Regions from separate parts of the Homo sapiens genome. Here regions 1, 2, 3, 5, 6 and 7 are each linked to region 4. Evidence: promoter capture Hi-C in 16 types of primary human blood cells and fetal thymus (Javierre and others, 2016). All regions are on one chromosome and are shown on one strand. Each heading gives the region's core, a stretch centred on a gene start or on the middle of the fragment in contact. The rest is flanking DNA. Distances are from core to core; before and after follow the strand shown. Region 1 overlaps CAMK2D (calcium/calmodulin dependent protein kinase II delta). Region 2 has its middle 200 kb from the start of ARSJ. Region 3 overlaps CAMK2D (calcium/calmodulin dependent protein kinase II delta). Region 4 holds the start of CAMK2D (calcium/calmodulin dependent protein kinase II delta). Region 5 overlaps ANK2 (ankyrin 2). Region 6 overlaps LOC105377374 (a long non-coding RNA gene). Region 7 has its middle 94 kb from the start of ARSJ.

Region 1 (2,725 bases), core at 8-2,507, 260 kb after region 4:
TAAAGGATTTGGAAATTCTCAGGTCAAGGAGACGTGGGGTCAATTTAGGAAATAAAAATGGCTGTAGATCACAACTTGGCAGTCAGCTCTGCTGACTTTTTCCTTTTTGTTTGAATAGAACAGCTGATGCTGTTAAAGTGTACTCTCTATTTATATAACTAAGCACACTGACCTAACTCTGCTAGAGGTAGTCAGTCATTTTTTACAGTGGAAAGGTAGATAGCTGTGTCAAGAATTTTATTTAGTAGGTCTATTCATCTCACTCTTTGCACTTAAGCTAAAATTTGAACTGAAGTAGTTTTATGAATCATTGATACCAGTCATATTAGATAAAAATATTCTTTTTTTTTAGCCAAATAAATAGATATGCCATTTAGCTTTCCCACTGATTCAGGAAGCATTATCTTTGTGTTTTGGATTCATTAGCTCTTTAAGCTAAGCTAAATGTTTCATATGAATTTTCACATTCTTCCCTTGAGCAAGACTAAGAAAACTTGTTCATTGTCCACTGGAGAAACTGAATCTTTAAATAACCAAATAAAATTAGGAGAATACCAGCACCTTACTATATGCAGTTCATCTGCCAAGGAACGTAATCATGAGAAGGGTTTTAATAAGTGGTCTTTCTCACCTGAATTTGGCACTCAACTGTACTAAGTATTGGTTCAGGATCATTGCTATTAATCTATGTAAACATTAATGTATAAACAGAGTTCCTGTCAGTGTTACCTTGTAGTTTGTAATTTATTTTTGATAAAATGAAATAATAATATCAGTTCTTAGAAAACAGTTCTCCAATTCAAATCATAACAATGATATGGGTTTCATCTTGCCTCTGGGATTTCATAAATTGAGATAGTATTTGTATTTATAATTACATTGAGTCTGTATACAAGTATTAGAGGAATTCAGCATCATATTGAGATCAAAAGAAATGTCCAGTTGATCGTTTAACCCAAAGTGCTTAGCTTTATTACCTTAATAAATACATTATTTAAGTTTCTGCTTAATTTTGCTGGTGTGGATCTGGCCAAAAATGTCATAACCATAGCCCATTAGGACTCATTTGTGTTCTCTGTAAGACCCAGACAGCCTTCTGGAGACTAACCCTTTTAATATTGAATGATATCAGAAACCTTTAAGACTAGAAGACACTTTGAAAGATTGCCTAGGCCCCATCATTTTTACTGGGACAAGTGGTAGATAAAATGGTCTTAAGTGATTTTAAATTATTTATTATGCTGATGATCTGTTTGTGTGGGAATCTCTCCATTTATCAGTGCATGGTCCTCAAGAAAGACCCTATATGTGAATAATTATGCTCTCTTATTTTTACTTTAGAATTGCTGTGGCTCTCAGTAGCTTGGTAGGGAATGTGTTTATTGTCCAGCTCTGTTGAAACCAAAATTTACCTATATCTAACATTCTATAACTAACATCCAAGAACTCACAATTACTATCAGTTAAATAATCTGACCAAAACTGTATCCCATCTACAAAACCATGTCATATCTACAAAACTGTGTCTTCCACACACATACTTTTCAACCTTCTCTTTTCTGTAGACAACATTGTGATCAGTGAGACACCACACTTTTTGACATATTCTTAAAGGCATACCCCCATACATACTTCTGCATGCGAGCACTTGCTCTACCCATTGCTGCTGGCTGTCCCAGCTATAGTGCATCTAACACCAGCACCTAGACTTACATTGTTTTATGGTGGTATATGATTCCTTGAATACCATGTCACATGCCTCCCATACCAAGGCAGTGCACATTCTGCCCCATCCCCAAGGACTAACCTGGCAGGGACAGCTTCTGTGTCCTCTCCAATGTAAAGAAACATGGAGTTGCTGGAGGAGGGGATTAAACACTGTGGTAACCCGGTCAAAGGAAGAAATGAGGTAAACTAACAACAAAGTTTTTCTTTCTGGCGTCTTTGAATGGGAAAAGGCAGACAAGGCCAGCTGTTCTCAAAGAAAGATAAAAGAAAGCAAAAGTAGTCAGAGATTAATGGTTCCTCAGTCTGGAGCACCTTAGAAAGCCAAGATTTAAAGGCCCATTTTCCTTCAGCTCTTCTAATTAGTTTCCATTGAGAAATCATGTCCCCAGTCTGTGTAATACTTTTGAATTGTGTCTAGGCTGTTTCTTCATTCAGCAAATATTTATTGAATCCCTTCTCTTTACCTGACTTCCATGTGCTTCTCTTTTTGAACTAGCCATGTTCAAGAGATTTGAATGCACCAGAGTCAAAATGCTGTTTCCTACCCTTTATATGAATCTTGTTATGCTATAATGTAGGCCCATTTATCTTACTTAATACAATAACTATCAAGAAAAATTAGTGAAACCCAACATATATGCATGTTTTACCTAAAAAAAAAAAAACTCAGTGAAACCCAGGAAAAAAGTGAGACCCAAAATAAATACATTTTTTTAAATCTAAAAGTTCTTTTATTTCCTTTTTCTTAAAAACCTTCAACATTTAGCTCTAACCACATTTTTCTTCCCAAGCTCGTAATCATCCCAAGGGACTGGCATTGTTTTACAACTCTTCTTTTTAAAAAGCTTCCAGAGTTCATTGTTTTCTTTCTCCAAGGCAATGTGTTGACACCCTAGTGTTGACCTCTTGAGCAGCTTTCTAATTTTGTTCAGTGTTTAAAACCAAATATTATCTCTGATGATGCTATGTCAGGAAACTCAGCAGCAAACTCAGTGTC
Region 2 (2,849 bases), core at 341-2,840, 420 kb before region 4:
TGTGATTTTCTCCAAAATCACCAAATAAAAAAGAATATCTGTGTTTTTATGAGAATAAGGCAATAATAAGAGAAGACATAGGAACCAGAAGTGATCCTCCCAAGGAAAGAATTGAGTATGATTTTCTGTACGTCTCTCTGAGTGTGGGGGATGAATAATAAGTGTTTCCTTCTTTTTAACAAAGTTTGTATTATATATATTCTCCAGATATTTTAAAGATAATTTAATTTTACATAGTATATGTTTTCTCTGTAATAAGATAATTACCCTTATTATCTTCTCTGTGACTATTTTTCCACCATTTGGGTTACTCAATTATACTGAATAAAAAATTTGAATACTGTAGTTCTCTATTTGAGGAATGAATTTTTGTCAAAATATCTGAGAGAGTCCTCAGTCAATCCCCATCCTTTTTATGAGAAGTTATTTTTCATTTCATTCAGTTCAACTGAAAATTGAGAGGCAAGGGGTGTTGAGCACTGACTTGGAACTCATAAACTGTGGAGAGTCCAATGTGGACAAATTATGTGCTTGGACCAAGCCAGAAAGAAGCCAATGTTGATGGCTGCATTTTCTTCTCCATTAGGAACCTGAGTAAGTCAAAGAGAAAGCAGGCATAGATGGGATAGACAGAGATCATGTATGTGTTCATTTTGATAATTTTTTGTGGAAAAGTAATTGGCATTTCAGAATAACAATTCTGTAGTTAATCTATACCTCTAGGGAAACTCACAATTTAGCCCTTCAAAAGATTTGAACCATTATAAAGTCAATTTCTTGTGCTAATCACCAGTCTTTGAACAGATAACTTCAGTATAATTCTGAACATCAAAGTCAGTAGATAGGAAATTGAACTTATTAGACTAATGTAATTAATCAAACATAGTACTGGAAAAACATTTACTCTTGTAAAAGTCACTCCAGGCTACCTCTTTATGTGCCATTCTAGCTCTAGTTCTTGAGATGAGATTTTTTTTTAATAAATAAAATAATTCAAGTAATGAAAAATTCTGTGGACAGCAAATTGTCAAATTAGAAATTAGTCTTGTTCATCTTGTTTTATGCAAATGAATGATGTTATCTTCCAAAAATTATATTGAAAGTATTTTTTCTAACATCCTTGAGAAATAGCTGGCCAAGCACAATCTGACAGTTCCTTTCTCTCCCTATTCTGCTCAGAGTCAGCCCAACTTGCATTTTGAGTGAACCCTATTTAGTCCTTGAAGATCACAGGGCTCCGAAACATGTCTGAAGCTTCCATGCCAGAGAAAATGGGGCAGTCAACGCCAGCAGATGGCAGCATCATTGGACGCAGCCCCTACTTGCTGCGTCCCACAAGAGGGCTCATGACTCAGAAGTCTGGGAGGAGGTCGACCTTCCTAGCAGCAACTGAGCAAACATTTTTAATTTCACAGCTACTAGAGTATCCCTGAACAGAATGCTGGACGGACTCTCTTAGCACACTCAGATGAACCACCCCAACCTGCTCACAAGGTATACCCTGCTAAACTAATTCTTGATCAGACAAAGCAAGTGCTTATGGCAGTATTAAAGCAGGAATTCTGAGAAAAATGAGAAAATTAAATTATTGACTGTATTTGAGATATCCAGTTGTGTGCTACAGAATGACAGTTCTATCAATGATAGCCCGTGTACACTACAGTGGTCTCATAAGACTATAATATTGTATTTTTACTACCCCTTTTCTATGTTTAGATACACACATACTTAGCGTTGTGTTACAACTGCCTGCAGTATTCAGTACAATAATGTGCAGTACAGGTTTTTAGTTTAGGAGGACACTCATTCAAGGACACTCATCCCCCTTCCAAAAAATAGGCAGTGGAGGCACCTGAAAAGGGTCTGAACAGACATCCTCCCTCATCTTCCAATAAGAAGGCCTCTGAATGGAGGCACTTAAGCTTGGAATGCAGGAATACCTATGAGCATGATCACTGGGGTAGGGGAGGTGCTGGGAGGCTGAGTCCTCCAATGCAACTCCCTCCAGAGACAGCAATGCACTAATTATACACCAAGCTTGAACTGTGCAGGGCAGCTTTCTACCCATTACCATGGCCAGGTAAAGCCTTTGTAATTTCTATTAGAATTGCGGCCTAGATCCAAACTTCTCAGTTATAAATAAAAATTACTGTGTTTTCACCTTTGCTTACATCTGTTATGCATGTACGAGTGTGTGTGTGTGTGTAATTAATTTTCCTCTATTGTGTTAAGTAGGGATCTACCATATGTTATTAAATATAGGACTCTAAGAGTATTATTTTAATTTATATACTTCTAAGAAAGAAAAGAAAATGCTTCCAATTAAACTATGACTCTCCACCAACTGTAAGAAATTTCAGAAATGTTAAATATGAAAAGAAGTAGTGTTAGAATCAATGAAATGTAGTAACTTTATCTATTTTATTTCAAGTTGACAATCAATGGTCTTTCTACCACTAATTGAATACCTCACACTTTTCTCACCTACATGAAATTTTTCTAAATAAATTATATTTTCACGTAAACATAGGTTTTCTGGACTCTCTATTTAGTTCTATTAGTCTTTCCATCAATTATTACATGAATAACATCCTATCTCAATTCCCATCTTTTACTTTGGTTAGAATTGACATCATTAGAATATCAACTTTTCTAACAGACATTTAAATTGTTCCAATTTTTTTGTACTTACAGACAACGCAAATTTAAATTCATACAAATTCATTTTGTATTAAGGTTACATTTCTGAAGGTGAAATTGTTTATCAAAGGATATAAAATTTAATTTTAATAGATATTGCCAGATTTCTCTCCAAAAATTGGATTAACTTAATGTTCCACCAATTGTGT
Region 3 (2,992 bases), core at 153-2,652, 280 kb after region 4:
TGCACACTTTTTTTTGGAATTGACTGCTGCTCACCAACTCCATTGCCATCACTCTAACTTAAGATATAATCATCTTTTGCTGATATTATTGACATAGCTTCTTAGCCATTGACCTGCTTCTGCTTACAGTCTATTCTCAACAGAGAATAGAGTTACACTTTCAAAAATACATTAGATCATGTGCTGCTCTTGCTCTGTATTCTCCAGTGGCTGCCAAAGACATCAGAATCTATTAAAAGGCCTACCATGACCAGGGCTCCTTCAGACATGCCTTGCCTTGCCATCTGACTTAATGTCCTATTATTATATGTGCATCAGGAACACTGTTTCTGAAATGTATCAAGCAGGTTCCTGCCACAGGGCCTTGCACTTACTATTCCATGTCTGGTATGTCCTGATACACATTTCCATGTGGCTTACTGCCCTTTCTCTTTTTAAGTCTCTGACCAAATGTTATCAAAAGTTACCCTCTCTGTGAGATCTTTTACTACCTTATTTTAAATTACATCCCTCCAGACTGGGCATGGTGGTTCATGCCTGTAATCCCAGCACTTTGGGAGGCAGGCAGATCACTTGAGGCCAGGAGTTTTTGAGACCAGCCTGGCCAACATGACAAAACCCCATCTCTACTAAAAATACAACAAAATTAGCCAGGTGTGGTGGTGCATGCCTGTAATCTCAGCTACTTGGGAGGCTGAGGCACAAGAATCACTGGAACTTGGGAGGCAGAGGTTGCAGTGAACTGAGATGGCACCACTGCACTCCAGCCTGGGCAGCAGAGTGAGACTCTGTCTCAAAAAATAAAATAAAATGAAAATTTACATCCCTCCAAATCCAGCACTCCCCATTCTCCTGTTTTACTTTTCTCTTTATATTTATTATCTGAAATATCTATTTTACTTGTTTCCTGTTCCTCTTCCCCCTACTAAAATGTAAGTTTCTGTAGAGCAGAGATTTTTGTCTGTTTTGTTTATAGCCATATTCATAGTATCTAGAATAGTGTTGGGCAATAGTGGGAATAATAAATATTTAATTGGTAGAGGAAGGAAGCATAGTGGATACCAACCATGACATGTCCTAGCAGCCACTAAAATGATCGGAATTCTCCTGAAATTGTGATCAGTTTACAACTTTTTCTGTGTAGGTTTTTGTACATATAATTACCTCGCTCCATAATTTAGGAGTTAAAAACACCGAAAATGCATGTTTTAAAAGTGTCTTAGTCCATTTGTGATGCTATAACAAAATATCACAGACTGGGTAATTTATAAATAGTAGAAATTTATTTTTCACAGTTTTGGAGGCTGGAAAGTCTAAGATCAAGGTGCCAGCAGACTTGATGTCTGGTGAACGCTTGCTCTCTGCTTTAAAAATGGCACCTCTTGCTGTGTCTTCACATGGCAGAAGGAATGGAAGGGACTAGCCAATCCCTCAAGCCCTTTTTTTGTTTTTGAAGAGGAGTCTCACCCTGTCACCCAGGTTGGAGTGCAGTGGCACAATCTCAGCTCACTGCAACCTCCGCCTGCTAGGTTCAAGCAATTATCCTGCCTCAGACTCCCGAGTAGCTGGGATTACAGGCACCCGCCACCGTGCAGAGCTAATTTTTGTATTTTTAGTAGAGACAAGGTTTCACCATGTTTGCCAAGCTAGTTTCGAACTCCTGACCTCAAGTGATCCGCCCACCTTGGTCTCCCAAAGTGCTGGGATTACAGATGTGAGCCACTGCACCCGGCCCTCAAGCCCTTTTATAAGGGCACTAGTCCCCTTCTAATAACCACTCAAGGGCCCCACCTGTTAATACCATCAATGTTTGGTATTAAGGTGCAACATGGACTTTGTAGGGACGCATACATTCATATCATAGCATTAAGTCATAGGATGTTTTTTCCTATTGGAATGGAGGACGCGCTTTGGTGTCAAATATACTAGATTTGAATCCCAGCCCAGCTCTCCATTGAATATGCATTCTGACTGCTCATGTAAACCATTCTGAGTCATATGTACAATAGGGATAATAATATGTCAATGCTGGCCGGGTGCGGTAGTTCACGCCTGTAATTCTAGCACTTTGGGAGGCCGAGGCGGGCGGATTACCTGAACTCAGGAGTTCGAGACAAGCCTGGGCAACACAGTGAAACCCTGTCTCTACTAAAATACAAAAGAAATTAGCCGGTGTGGCGGCATGCACCTGTAGTCCCAGCTACTCAGGAGGCTGAGGCAGGAGAATTGCTGGAACCCGGGAGGCAGAGGTTGCAGTGAGCCAAGATCCCGCCACTGCACCCCAACCTGGGCGACAGAGTTAGACTCCATCTCTAAAACAAAAATAATAATAATATGTCAATACCTAACCATTTTTTACCTACAAAAGTAATTTCATATGGCTCAACCTGAAAATAATAATAACAATAAGAGAGCATACTCATGTTGAATAGTGATACAATCTATTAAATGCCTAGTATAATTCCTGGCCCATGATTTAAAACAGTCCATAAATCCAGAGAGAACTGTGTGTGTGTTTTTAAACATCGTTTCTATTTTCTGAAACATTTATTTTAGATAAGTAGGTATAAATGTTAAGACCCACATCCAGCCAACCTATGTGCATAAATACCCAAACTACATAAAGCTGCCCAAGTGCAGAAAACAAGTTCATTTTTGCTTTAAAATCGAAACTGATGGTTTTTTTAAAGTGTTTGTGAAGATGACGGTGTTCTTTTAACTCATTATGAATTTTAAACAATTAAAGTATTTTAGTTCACTACTTTTGGCCTCCATAGTACCATATAATAGGCACTTAATAGATTAATGAATTAATTATGAGGTTTCTACATTAATTCTGAGTTGAGACATATTTTGTACTTATTAAACATGTTTTAAGTAATAACTCAAAGTCATCCCTCATTTGAAGTAGTCCTTTTATCTCTGGATATGTTCAACTGTTTTGAAAAATTGGCTCAATTTTGCCTGTGTCTTGATTATCACTGCTGAGAGG
Region 4 (2,725 bases), core at 116-2,615:
AATTTGAAAAAGACCGTCCATAACGCTGTTTTTGGTCTGCGGCTAAATTTGCAATTGCATAGTTTCATTAAGGAGAACTGGAAAGAGGGCCCAGAAGTTGTTCTAGCAATCGGCAGCAGTTTATCTATTTTAAATCGTAATGCATACTTTTTTTTTCCTCCTACTGAAAACAATGGCAGATATGCTAAAGGGAAGGACACATTCTTGAACTGCTAAATGGTTTTTCCAGATAGCCATTTACGGAGTGCACTCAATTGCCACTATCTGGCTGAAAGCAAAAGCACACACGACGGCCCCTTTTCTTTTTTCCCTTTGCAAAGCGAAACAGTCTAGACGTGTTCACGTGATGTGAATGACGTCAGCCCCCGCCGGGTCGCGTGACCGACACCCAGCCTTCCTACTACCTCCCCCTGACCGCCAGAGTGGGAAATATCGCGAGAATTCGCCTTACTATCAGAACTTACTGAGGTTGCAGGGGAGTTACTCAGAAGGGAAGGGAAGGTGTGGTTGTGCGGCGGAGTTTTTGCTTTCATTCTTTTAACGTTCACAGCCAAAGCAAAGGCCTTTGGGGATTGCCAGAGTCTCAGCCACCATCCTGGAAAACAGCGGGGGAGGTGGGCCTGGAGGTGGCAAGTGTAATGTGGCTCAGGGGCCGTCATTGCCCCTTGCAGAAGGGGCTGCGGGGGAGGGAGAAAACCTGCGCCCGGTTCTGGGGAGCTGGCGACGCAGTGAACCCTGCTGAGGCTGGGTTTTGCCCCGACAGTCGCTGGTGGCTGTGGGAAGGGTTGGGACCCTTCTCTGAGAGCAGTGAACAGCCCACATCCGGCCCCTGCTGTGTCAACTCTGAGCGGCGTGGAGATGAAGTGGTTGCTCTCCCTTGCTCGGCCCACCGGGTGTCGTGGCCCGGGAACCGGCCTGGAGAAGTCCCTGCTGCCCGGCGCCCAAAACAGGGGCGTGGGCTTCCGCGACCCAGGGCGGCTGCCCCGGGCCATCCTCGAGTTGCCCTGCATCTTCCCGCTCAGTCAGCCCCAGATTGAGGCAGCCTTCTCTGTGCGGGTTTAAATGGGTAACTGTGACTTCTCGCCTCATTCACCCAAACCTCCAGTCTTCTCCCCCGCACATCCTCCTCCACCCACCTGGTTTCTCCCTAGACTGGTGTGCTCGTGTGTGCAACCAAAGGAGGGAGTGCGAGAGATCCACGAAGGGACAGGCTTGGAGTCGCTAGAGGGAGGTGTGGGACCAGCGAGGAGGGGGCTTCGCCAGGGAGGGGGTGCTGGCAGGCGGAGGGAGCGGCGGGAGGAGGCGCCGGAGGAGGAGACGGAGGCCTGGGGACGGCAGAAGAGGCTTCGCCTGAGCCGAGCGCTCTTTCTCTCGCCGCGCCGTCTTGAAGCCGCGCGGGCTCGTGAGCAGCGCGAGGCCGCCAAGGTGCCTCGCTTCGCCGGAGCCGCTGCCGCCCGCCGGAGGGAAGCCGGCCTCGGGCGCGCACGCTCGTCGGAGCCCCGGCGCGCCCCGCGCCTGAGCCTGCTGACAGCGGCCGCTGGGCTCAGGCTGTCCGCTCTGGGCTCCGCGGCCTCGGCCCCGCTGCACTCCACCTCCGCCCCCTCGGACTCCCTCCCCTCTGCTTCTACTCCTCCTGCTCCAGTGCGGATCGTTTCGCAACTGCTTGCCACTCGTCCCGTGCCTGGCTGTTTTTCCATTTCCCGGCCCCCTCTTCTTGAGTACTTTACCCCCTGCATTTGGGGACAGGGACTGGAAAAGGGGCGGGTGGAGCGTCCAGTGGAGAAGAAGGAAGCGAGGCCCGCAGGAGGAGGAGGATCGGCGGACTGTGGGGAGGAGACCCCACGCCACCCTTTCTGGTCATCTCCCCTCCCGCCCCGCCCCTGCGCACACTCCCTCGCGGGCGAGCTACTTTCGGACCAGGAAAGTAAGAGCGGCCCTGGGTGACAGCGCCGCGGGGCCAGTCCCGGGGTTAGCCGCGCGTCTGCTCGCTTCTGGTCCGTCGCGCTCCCAGCCAGGGCACAGCCCGGACCGAGGATGGCTTCGACCACAACCTGCACCAGGTTCACGGACGAGTATCAGCTTTTCGAGGAGCTTGGAAAGTAAGCACCTTTGCCCGGCATCCGCATATCCCCTTTCCAGCTGAGGGCGGGTCGCGTTGCCCCCGACCCACCGGCCTCCGTCTTGGGGCGAGGGAGTTTGGGAGAGGAATGGGAGGAGGGCCCCTGGTTTGTCAGCTCTGGGGAAGGTGCTGTCTTAATAAAGGGAGGGAGCACAGAAGGGGTAGGACCCTTACTCCAACTGTGGCTCATTTTGATGGTCCCTAGCCCACCTTCTCCCGGTCCCCCACCCTCCTGCACTGAGAGACTTAGTGAATTTACGATCTCTGCAGTTGTAGCTATCATCCTGAGAAGTGTGCGCGCGCGCCTGTGTGTAATGTGTGTTTGGAGAGGAAATTAGAACCCATGTAAAATGCAACATAGATCATGTTTTCTGTAAATAGAGATGCCTCCTGGTTAGCCGGCGTGTCGGCCGTATGACCCAGGTACTGATGAGAACTCACAGCCTCAGACGGTGCCATATTTATTGATGCCGAAAGTTCAACTTGGCATAGAGTCTATTTCGCATCCAGTAGTTGTTCTGTCCAGGAAAAGGGCCACCCAACAGAACCCAACCCCTTGCCCTATATCCAGTGTTGTTCTTTGCACCAGATTACCGCTCACCATCA
Region 5 (2,908 bases), core at 78-2,577, 400 kb after region 4:
TGATAAAAATTACATCTAAAAATGATTTTGAAACATAATAATCTCCCCCAAATTTAGATATCCACAACTGCCAACAGAGGTTCCTGAATGTTGGTATATTCTCTAAATCTTCAAATAGAAAGTTCTATTATTCTAAATTTCAGAGATGATAAAAGGCCTGCCCTGGGCTATACCATTAGCTGATGCAGAGCCCAGGTTTTCTAGTTCTTAGTTTATTCTTCTTTTCATGTATTCTTTCTCAAGAAAGTGGGGGGTACCTTTTATGCTGTGAATGACACCTGACTGATGCATCTATGTCAGGTTTTGTTGAAAACCTGGGTCACATTCTTTTTACCTGTCCAGCTGAAGCCAAGGTGATCAGCAATATAAGCCAGCCTTTCCTCGATCCGTTCCTGCTCATCCTGTGGATCTGGAGAAGGTCAAAAACAGAATGGCCAAAGGTTGTCTATGACAGGAGAGGAACCACAGTACTGATTCATTCAAAGAAAGGAAGTCACTTCTCCAAATATTTGAAAGCACAAACTAGATACTACATTTCAGATCATATTGTGTGTCTGATTTCTGGGGTGGAATGGGGAATAGATCTAATATGAATCATGAAAACCATCTGCTTCCATATCTCTTTAATCAAGACTAGTTCTAGACATAATTATATAAGTTGCTGATTTCTAGTAATCTTATGACTTTTAAATTATTGGAGAGAATACTGCCCACCAAGAAGACCACCATCTTGTTCATGAAACACCAGAGAAATCATAAATGGGATGCAGAAGTAGAGCAATTGGCTAGGACCTCCTATTATTGCTTGTGGAGGGATAGATCATTTCCAGGTCATGTCTGAAAGGAATCACATCAGAGATTCACAAGAGATGTTGATCATGAGCTGATCAGGCCATCCTGATTAGTGTGGCCAGAAACAACATTTGGTCCTGGTGACCTTGGAGAAACGAGGATAAAAGCATATGCATTTTTATGTGTATATTGTATCTGTATGCATATATGTCTTTTGGGCAAAGTTTCTGCCTTCTTGCTATTAAGCTTATATACTACTCACTCCTATAAACTATAATTTTCCCATTCATGTTTAACTCCCACTGATTGATAGGCAGCATTTTAGACCATGGTATAGGAAAGTTTGTATAACCTCAATTTAAGAATGACAGTCTTCATTGTAGAGATATTGGAAGAACACAGGCTACTTTTCAAAGCCATCTATGGTTTCCTTTTTTATAAGTCAAAGAGCCATCATCCCCTCACAGTCAACTTAAACTGTGCAAAGTTTGAGTTTTTGTTGTCTGCTGCATCTAATGAGAGTACATTCTCCATTCATCTACCACATAAATGAAAAGCATATTTTTACCTTAGGTTTGTTTGCTTAAAGTATTTACCAATGGTATCTGAAATCCAACCTTTCTGAATCAAAAACAGATCCACAACAATTAGAATTTCATGTTATGTGAAATCTTCTCAAGCAAATGGCTTCCTAATGATTACAAAATTGTAAGTACAAATTATTTTAAAGTATGCGAAGATAAGAAGAAAAGCAATGTCTTCATACTATGAAACAAAATACAATATATTTATGTGCAAAAGTGCTTAATTTGAGTCTAAGCTTGGGACTTCAGAACAACAAAACTCAAAGCTCGCATGGCCTTATTACGTGCAGAGGCTAAAAAAGGCAAGATCACTGTTGCCCGGTTATTATGTTTATGTTTTCCATAAGCATTCTCATTACTCAATCTTGAGATTGTTTTCTTAGACAAGAGTATACAGAGAAAGCACAAAACACAAAGGGCTTACACAAACACATTAGCCACTACAGAAAGCTTAAAGAAAATGAGACACAAATCATCAAATAAAACAAACATACAAAAAAACTATATCAATTTTATGACATGCGTAGCACAGGGAATCCCGGTGGCTGGCAAATACCTTCAGCATGGTCATGGCCATTTTCATCAGGGATGCGTTCAATCAGAGTCTCAATAGACTCATCCCAAATGGGCCTTGTGTCAAAGATGTCCTCAGGAACTGAGTGCTCGGTCTCAACAGGTGGCAGATTTTCAATTACTGATACTTCCAGGGCACTACTACTTTCATCGTCTGAAACTATTTCCTGCTCCCTCTCTGACTGTGTCAGCCTATCCACTAATTTGGAAGCCTCATCACTAATCTCCTCAAAGAATTCTATGGAATTTCTGTAAAGGTCAAAGAAATGCTCCTTACTTTCTTTTGTGGGGCTCGTGCCCCCCCTGCAGGAAGATGTAGTGCTTCTGCTCTTAACTGGCAATCGGGATGTAAGTATCTTTGGTCTTGTGGCCCCTTCTTCTGATTCTAACTCAAGTTCCTCGGCCCTCTCTCTGCTCTCTGTTTCTGTCTCAGTGTAACTTCGGGTTTTTACTGGGCATTTGGTCTTTGAATCCAAAGAACTAGCATCAGATTCAGATTTGCTTCTATTATCTGGTGCGATGCTTGCCATGTCCTGTCCCTGAGGAGCCACTGTCTTCTGGACAGAGGTGTCTAGATCTGAGAGCTGCTGTTCAACTCTTTGGAGGGGTACTTTGACAGGGAGTTTGGACTTTGGTTTTGCTTCATCCGCCTTATTTTCCTCATCTACACTGGATAGAAAATCTTCAGAAACTGAACTCTCATACTCTGCAGATGGAGGTGCTGGGGTGGAAGTGGGCATAGTCCTTACAGGAATTTTGGATTTGCTTTCAGTAAAAGGCACATTCTCCATGGGTGCAGTAGGAATCTCGATTACTGATTTCTGTTCTTCTGGGGAAGAATCGGGAGAATCATCACCCCTATCTGAATAAACAGACCTGGTGAGTGTGGAAAAATCTAACTGGACTTGTACAGCTGGTTCAGAAGAGTCGGGGCAGGATATCTGCTTTACACCAGAGAG
Region 6 (2,980 bases), core at 359-2,858, 370 kb after region 4:
AATTTCACCACATTGCCCAGGCTGGTCTAGAACTTCTGGGCTCAAGCAGTCCTCCCACTTTGGCCTCCCAGAGTGCTGGGATTACAGGCATGAGCCACAGCACTCAGCCTCCATTCTCTTTTTTATCATTGCATATTTCTACTTTCTCTTTTACCTCTTGATGATGTTACTAGCCATTATCAATATTATTATTTCAAAAGGTAACTCTTAGATATATTTTGCATTTTCACATTTTTATTTCCTACATTAAAACCTTCATAAATTGAAGGTTTCTATTTATCTCAATATATATAATATGTGGCATGTTCTCTTAAGTTTGCCATAGGCCAGCCCCTCTCCTGATTTTCTATGTTCAGACAATTCACATATTATTTTCCTGTCTGGCTACTCTCAGCACAGGAATTAGAACCCTAGTTTGAAGCTTTTAGTTTTCTTCTGACCTCTGTTTAGCCATATCTCATAGTTTCTAATATGTTTACTGTTCAGCATTTTTTGAAGCCACACTGCAGGAAGATTGAGTAATGAAAAACTAGGAAAGCATATGTAGAAAAAAAGGCAAAGGAAAAGAGAGAGAGAAAGAGAGCATTAGTTAGGTGTAAAGACAGGATTCAGGGATAAATCTATTTTTCTCATAAGCTGTGCTCACAGGCTGGGAGAGAAAGCCATCATCAGTGAGCACACCATGACAGAGCAAGGCCGCAGGAGATGGGGAGGGGACAGCAAGAATGTCTTTGTCCGTTTGGGATGCTGTAACAAAATACCATAAACTGGACAGCTTGTAAACATAGACATTTATTTCTCACAGTTATGGAGACTGTGAAATCCAAGGTCAAGATGCCAGCAGATTTGGTGTCTGGTGAGGGCCCATTTTCCAGTTCATGGATGGCACCTTCACTGTGTCCTCGCATGGCAGAAGTAACTAGCTAGCTCTCTGGGGTCTCTCTTATAAGGATGCTAATCCGAATCATGAAGGTGAAGCCCTGCCAAAGGCCCCACCTCTTAATACTATCATGTTGAGGGTGGAGGATTTCAACATATGAATCACCTCCCAAAGGCCTCACTTCCTAATACCATCACATTGCAAGGGTGATTTTAACATACGAATTTTGAACATAATATTTAGACCATAGCAAGGACACAGGCCATAAATCCAGGAGACAAGAGAGCATTCTTTGTGAGAACAATGAGTAGTAGGGTTCACGTAAATACAGACAATTTTGGAGGTAGTAATAGAAAAGGCATTTGTGATGGCTAATTTACGTGTTAACTTGACTGGGTCATGGGGTGCCCAGATATTTGGTTAAACCCTATTCTGGGTATGTCTGTGAGTGTGTTTGTAGAATGAGATTAACATTTGAATGGGTGAACTGAGTAAAGCAGACTGCCCTCCCTAATACAGGTGGGCCTCACCCAATCAATCAAAGACCTACATAGAACAACAACAAAAAGAAAATAAAAGAAACTAAGACAAAACTTCTGCTTGACTGCCCTTCAGCTATTAGTTTTCTTGCCTTCAGACTCAAACGGAAACACTGGCTCTTCTTGGATCTCAAGCCTGCCTTCAGACTGAATCTATATCAGCTCTGCTCACTCTGCTGAGTGCAGATCTTGCGACTTCTCAACCTCCATCATCATGTGGAACAATTCCTTACAATAAATCTCTTTATATATGTGTGCACACACACACACACACACACACACAGGCATGCATGCACACAGGCACATACACACTATTGGTTCTGTTTTTCCAGAGAACCCTAATATAGCATTGTAGTAATTCATGCCCATTGACATCTACTTTCTTATAAAACAGCGTCAAGTTCATCTGCCAAATGTGAAGCAGATAAGGAAGAGAAAATGGGCTTGAGAAGCAAGAAAGAGATTTTTCAGAATAGTAATGACAAAGTTACTGAATAAGGTCTGTTTCCCTTTATAAATATATTTTTCCAGAAGAAGAAGAATTTTTTCCGGAAGAAAAGTAATTTTTAATTAATTGTTAAATGATCAGTTCAATATGTCTCTGCTGCAAGATTATAAATCCAAAGGGAAGGGTCTGTGTTTTTCAAAGATGGAGTGTTGTTTATTGTTGGTGCCATTTGCTTGAGTTCTTATCCCAGCTTTGTCGTTTTCTCTCTGCATGATTTGGGGCATGTTATTCAATTTCTTTTCCCCTCAGTTTCCTCACCTGGATCTGTTTCCTAGGATTGTGATGGAGATGAAAGAAGAGCATTGAATAGTAACTGGCAATAGTGAAAACTCAGCAAAAGTGACCCATTGGGCCATGATCTTGGCCCAGTCTACCCTGAGCACTATAGCACAATGTTTAAAATATAGTAGGTCTTGAATTGCATGCATTTGTGGATGGATGAAGACTGTTATTCTCTGGCTTAGCCACTGTGATTGATTGTTAGCAGCTGAGCATTATTTTGGACCTATTCTACATTCTTCCCTGCATGTTGGGGGAAGAGCCTCAGGTATACATTTTTTGGAATCCCTTTCCAGTGGGGTTATGTATTTGATTTTGCCGATGAAAGTTGTTTGCCCAAGATTTGAAAAGGAAAGAGAAGAAAAATGATTATACCTTTGGGAGCAGCTGGGGAGAGGTGCATGGACTCTGGCAGAAGACACATGGAGTGTTTTTGCAGCCATATATGGGCTATCTCCTAAGAAACATATACTTTGCTGCTACATGAATCTGAGCCCTTCAGTGGCAGCTTGGATTTCTGATTTCTGCACTGGTGGATTTCTTCGTAGCAGTAGTAGCTCCTCAGTGTGAAAGGAAAATAAAAGCTTGGGACCCCCAATGCACTATGCCACAAGGAAAAAATTAAGCTGAAAGCTGAGTCAAGCAAGACACTGACTTTCCTTTTGTTTCTAAGCAGATAGCTACAATAAAAGGTTAAAAATCCCCACGGGTAGCTACTCTATGTAAAGCGCCAATTTACTGAGTGCCAAACGAATACATAATTGAGTATTCCCC
Region 7 (3,103 bases), core at 250-2,749, 310 kb before region 4:
GTAGTTTGAGGTCTTACATTTAAGTCTTTAATTCATCTTGAGTTAATTGTTGTATATAATGAGAGGTAGGGATCCAGTTTCATTCTTCTGCATATGGTTAGACAGTTTTCCCAGTACCATTTATTTTTCCATTGTTTATTCTTGTCAACTGTGTTGGTGATCAGTTGGTTGTAGATGTGTGGCTTTTATTTTTTATTTTATTATTTTATTTTATTTTATTATTTTATTTTATTCATTTCATTTCATTTCATTATTTCATTTCATTTCATTTCATCATTTCATTTCATTTCATTTCATTTCATTTCATTTTATTTTATTTTGAGATGGAGTTTCATTCTTCTCACCCAGGCTGGAGTGCAATGGCATGATCTTGGCTCATTGCAACCTCTGCCTCCCAGGTTCAAGCAATTCTCCTACCTCAGCCTCCTGAGTAGCAGAGATTACAGGCATCCACCACCATGTCTGGCTAATTTTTGTATTTTTAGTGGAGACAGGGTTTCACCATGTTGGCCAGGCTAGTCTTGAACTCCTGACCTCATGTGATCTTCCCACCTCAGCCTCCAAAAGTGCTGGGATTACAGGTGTGAGCCACCGTGCCTGGCCAATGTGTGGCTTTATTTCAATGGTCTCTTTTTGGTTTACTTTTGAACTAGGTACAGGAAAAGCATTGAATCTGTAGATTGTTTTCAGCAGCTTGGACATTTTAACAATATTGAATCATCCAATCCATAAGCATAGAATCCATAAGCTTTTCCATTTGTTTGTGTCATCTATAATATTTTCAGCAGTATGTTCTACTCCTCATTGTGGAAGTCTTTCACCTCCTGGGTTAAATGTAATACCAGGTATTTTATTTTTGCATGTGGTTACTGTAAGTGGTTTTGTGTTCTTGATTTGGTTCTCAGCTTGAACATTATTGTTGTATAGACATGCTACTGATTTTTATCCATTGAGTTTGTATCCTGAAACACTGCCAAATTCATTTATCAGGGCTGGGAGTCTTTTGGCAGAATCTTTAGGGTTTTATGGATAAAGAATCATATTGTCAGTGACGAGAGATAATTTGATTTCCTCTTTTTGTATTTAGATGCCTTTTATTTGTATTGCCTGCCTGATTGCTCTGGCTTAGCTCTTCGATACTAAGTTGAATACTATTATGTAATGAGTGGAAAATCTTGTCTTTTCCCAGTACTTATGGAGAATGCTGCCAGCTTTTGCCCATTCAGTATGATGTTGGCTGTGGGTTTTTCATAGATCATTCTTACTATTTTTAGATTTGTTTCTTCAATGCCTAGATTGTTGAAGGTTTTTATTATGAAAGGATTTTGGATTTGTCAAATGCTTTCTTGCATCTATTGAATGATTATATGGTTTTAGTTTTTAATTTGTTTTATATGGTGAGTCACATTTACTGATTTGCCTATGTTGAACCATCCTTGCATCCCAGAAATAAAGCTGGCTTGTGGTGATTTAACTTTTTGATATGTTACTGGATTAAGTTTGCTAGTATTTTGTTGAGGATATTTGCATCTATGTTCATCAGAGGATTGACCTATAGTTTTCTTTTTTGTTGTGTCTCTGCCATATTTTGGTATCAGGATGATACTGGTTTCACAGAATGAGGTTGGGAGAAGTTTCTCCCCCTTTATCCTAGTTTCAGTAGGATTGTTTCCAGTTCTTCCTTGTACATCTGGTAGAATTTGGCTATTAATCCATATGGTCCAGGGCTATTTTGCTTAGTAGGTTACTTATTACCAATTCAATTTCATTAATAGTTATTAGTCTGTTCAGAATTTAATTTTCTTCTTGGTTCTATCTTAGGAAGTGGTATGTTTCCAGGAATTTATCCATTTCCTCTAGAATTTCTAGTTTGTGTGCATAGACATGTTCATAGTAGTCTCTGAGGATCTTTTGTATTTCTGTGTGATTTGTTGTGATGTCACATTTGTCATTTCTGATTGTGCTTATTTGGATCTCTTGTCTTTTTTTCTTTGTTAATACAGCCAGCGGTCTATCAATCTTGTTTATCCGTTCAAAAGGCAACCAACTTTTTATTTTATTGAAACTTTGTATGATTCTATTGGTCTGAATTTCATTTAGTTCTGCTCAGACTTTAGTTATTTCTTTTCTTCTGCTAGGTTTGGGGTTAGTTTGCTCTTGTTTTCCTACTTTCTTCAGATATGAGGTTAGGTTGTTAATTTGAGATCTTTCTATCTTTTGATGTAGGCATTTTTAGCACTATAAGCTTTCCTCTTAACACTGCTTTTGCTGCATTCCAGGGGTTTTGGTATGTTGTGCCTCTATTTTCATTTGATTCAAAGAATTTTTACATTTCTGCCTTAATTTTGTTGTTTACCAAAAAGTCACTCAGAAACAACTTGTTTAGTTTCCATGTATTTGTGTGGCTGCAAGAGCTACTCTTGGTATTGATTTCTATTTTTATTCCCTGTGGTCTTACAAGATGGTTGTTATGATTTCAATATTTTAAAATTTATTAAGACTTGCTTTATGACTGAGCAGGTGGTAATCTTAAAGTATGTTCCATGTGCAGATAAGAATAATATGTATTCTGTGGTTGTTGGGTGGGATAGTCTGTAGATTTCTATTAGATCCAATTGGTCAAGTCTTGAATTTAAGCCCAGAATTTTTTGTTAGTTTTCTGCCTCAGTGATCTGTCTAATGCTGTCAGTGAGGTTTTGAAGTTCCCCACTATTATTGTGTAACTGTCTAAATCTTTTCTTACGTCTGGAAGTCATTGTTTTAGAAGTCTAGGCCCTCCAAATTTGAGTCTATATATATTTAGGATAATTAAGTCTTCTTGTTGAGTTGAACATTTTATCATTATGTAATGCCTTCTTGTTTTCTTTTCTCCTGTTGTTGGTTTAAAGTCTACTTTATCTAATATAAGAAAAGTGGCCACTCCTCCTTTCTGTTTTCCATTTGTGTGATAGATCTGTCTCTATCCCTTTGCTTTGAGCCTGGGGGTGTCATTACATGTAAAATGGGTCTCTTGAACACAAGAGAAGGATGGATCTTGTTTTTTTTTATCCAATTTGCCAATCTATGTCATTTAAGTGGAGCATTTAGGTAATTCATGTTCAAG

The links. The method cuts DNA at HindIII sites, captures the fragments that hold promoters and counts their contacts. A CHiCAGO score of 5 or more calls a contact.
Region 1: a contact is called between a fragment that was not itself captured here and the fragment with the promoter of CAMK2D in region 4, in 2 of 17 cell types (total B cells and activated CD4 T cells). The highest score is 6.5, in total B cells.
Region 2: a contact is called between a fragment that was not itself captured here and the fragment with the promoter of CAMK2D in region 4, in 1 of 17 cell types (endothelial precursors). The highest score is 5.0, in endothelial precursors.
Region 3: a contact is called between a fragment that was not itself captured here and the fragment with the promoter of CAMK2D in region 4, in 4 of 17 cell types (M2 macrophages, activated CD4 T cells, M0 macrophages and 1 more). The highest score is 8.3, in M2 macrophages.
Region 5: a contact is called between a fragment that was not itself captured here and the fragment with the promoter of CAMK2D in region 4, in 1 of 17 cell types (activated CD4 T cells). The highest score is 6.0, in activated CD4 T cells.
Region 6: a fragment that was not itself captured here is called in contact with the fragment with the promoter of CAMK2D in region 4 in 1 of 17 cell types (activated CD4 T cells); the score reaches 6.1 in activated CD4 T cells.
Region 7: a fragment that was not itself captured here is called in contact with the fragment with the promoter of CAMK2D in region 4 in 2 of 17 cell types (total CD4 T cells and non-activated CD4 T cells); the score reaches 6.9 in total CD4 T cells.

The regions. Positions count from the first base shown.
Region 1 is chr4:113,496,784-113,499,508 of GRCh38, reverse strand. All of the region lies in intron 16 of CAMK2D (calcium/calmodulin dependent protein kinase II delta), which reads left to right. Among named protein-coding and RNA genes, the nearest start is that of CAMK2D, 260 kb to the left of the region's middle. The HindIII fragment of the contact is 2,636 bases long and covers 1-2,575 here.
Region 2 is chr4:114,179,145-114,181,993 of GRCh38, reverse strand. No RefSeq gene overlaps it. Among named protein-coding and RNA genes, the nearest start is that of ARSJ, 200 kb to the right of the region's middle. The HindIII fragment of the contact is 668 bases long and covers 1,257-1,924 here.
Region 3 is chr4:113,479,301-113,482,292 of GRCh38, reverse strand. The region is part of intron 16 of CAMK2D (calcium/calmodulin dependent protein kinase II delta); the gene reads left to right. Among named protein-coding and RNA genes, the nearest start is that of CAMK2D, 280 kb to the left of the region's middle. The HindIII fragment of the contact is 7,236 bases long and covers 1-2,992 here.
Region 4 is chr4:113,760,378-113,763,102 of GRCh38, reverse strand. It overlaps CAMK2D (calcium/calmodulin dependent protein kinase II delta), which reads left to right and starts at 1,365. Exons shown (of 21, transcript NM_001321571.2): 1 at 1,365-2,099. The coding sequence starts at 2,035. RefSeq lists enhancers at 98-636, 637-1,175 and a silencer at 1,169-1,578. The HindIII fragment of the contact is 14,700 bases long and covers 1-2,725 here.
Region 5 is chr4:113,358,324-113,361,231 of GRCh38, reverse strand. It overlaps ANK2 (ankyrin 2), which reads right to left. Exons shown (of 46, transcript NM_001148.6): 38 at 1,933-2,908; 39 at 335-409. Among named protein-coding and RNA genes, the nearest start is that of MIR8082, 210 kb to the right of the region's middle. The HindIII fragment of the contact is 574 bases long and covers 1,041-1,614 here.
Region 6 is chr4:113,387,673-113,390,652 of GRCh38, reverse strand. LOC105377374 (a long non-coding RNA gene) reads left to right here. Exons shown (of 5, transcript NR_199847.1): 5 at 2,203-2,980. Among named protein-coding and RNA genes, the nearest start is that of MIR8082, 240 kb to the right of the region's middle. The HindIII fragment of the contact is 2,369 bases long and covers 424-2,792 here.
Region 7 is chr4:114,072,536-114,075,638 of GRCh38, reverse strand. No RefSeq gene overlaps it. Among named protein-coding and RNA genes, the nearest start is that of ARSJ, 94 kb to the right of the region's middle. The HindIII fragment of the contact is 1,497 bases long and covers 751-2,247 here.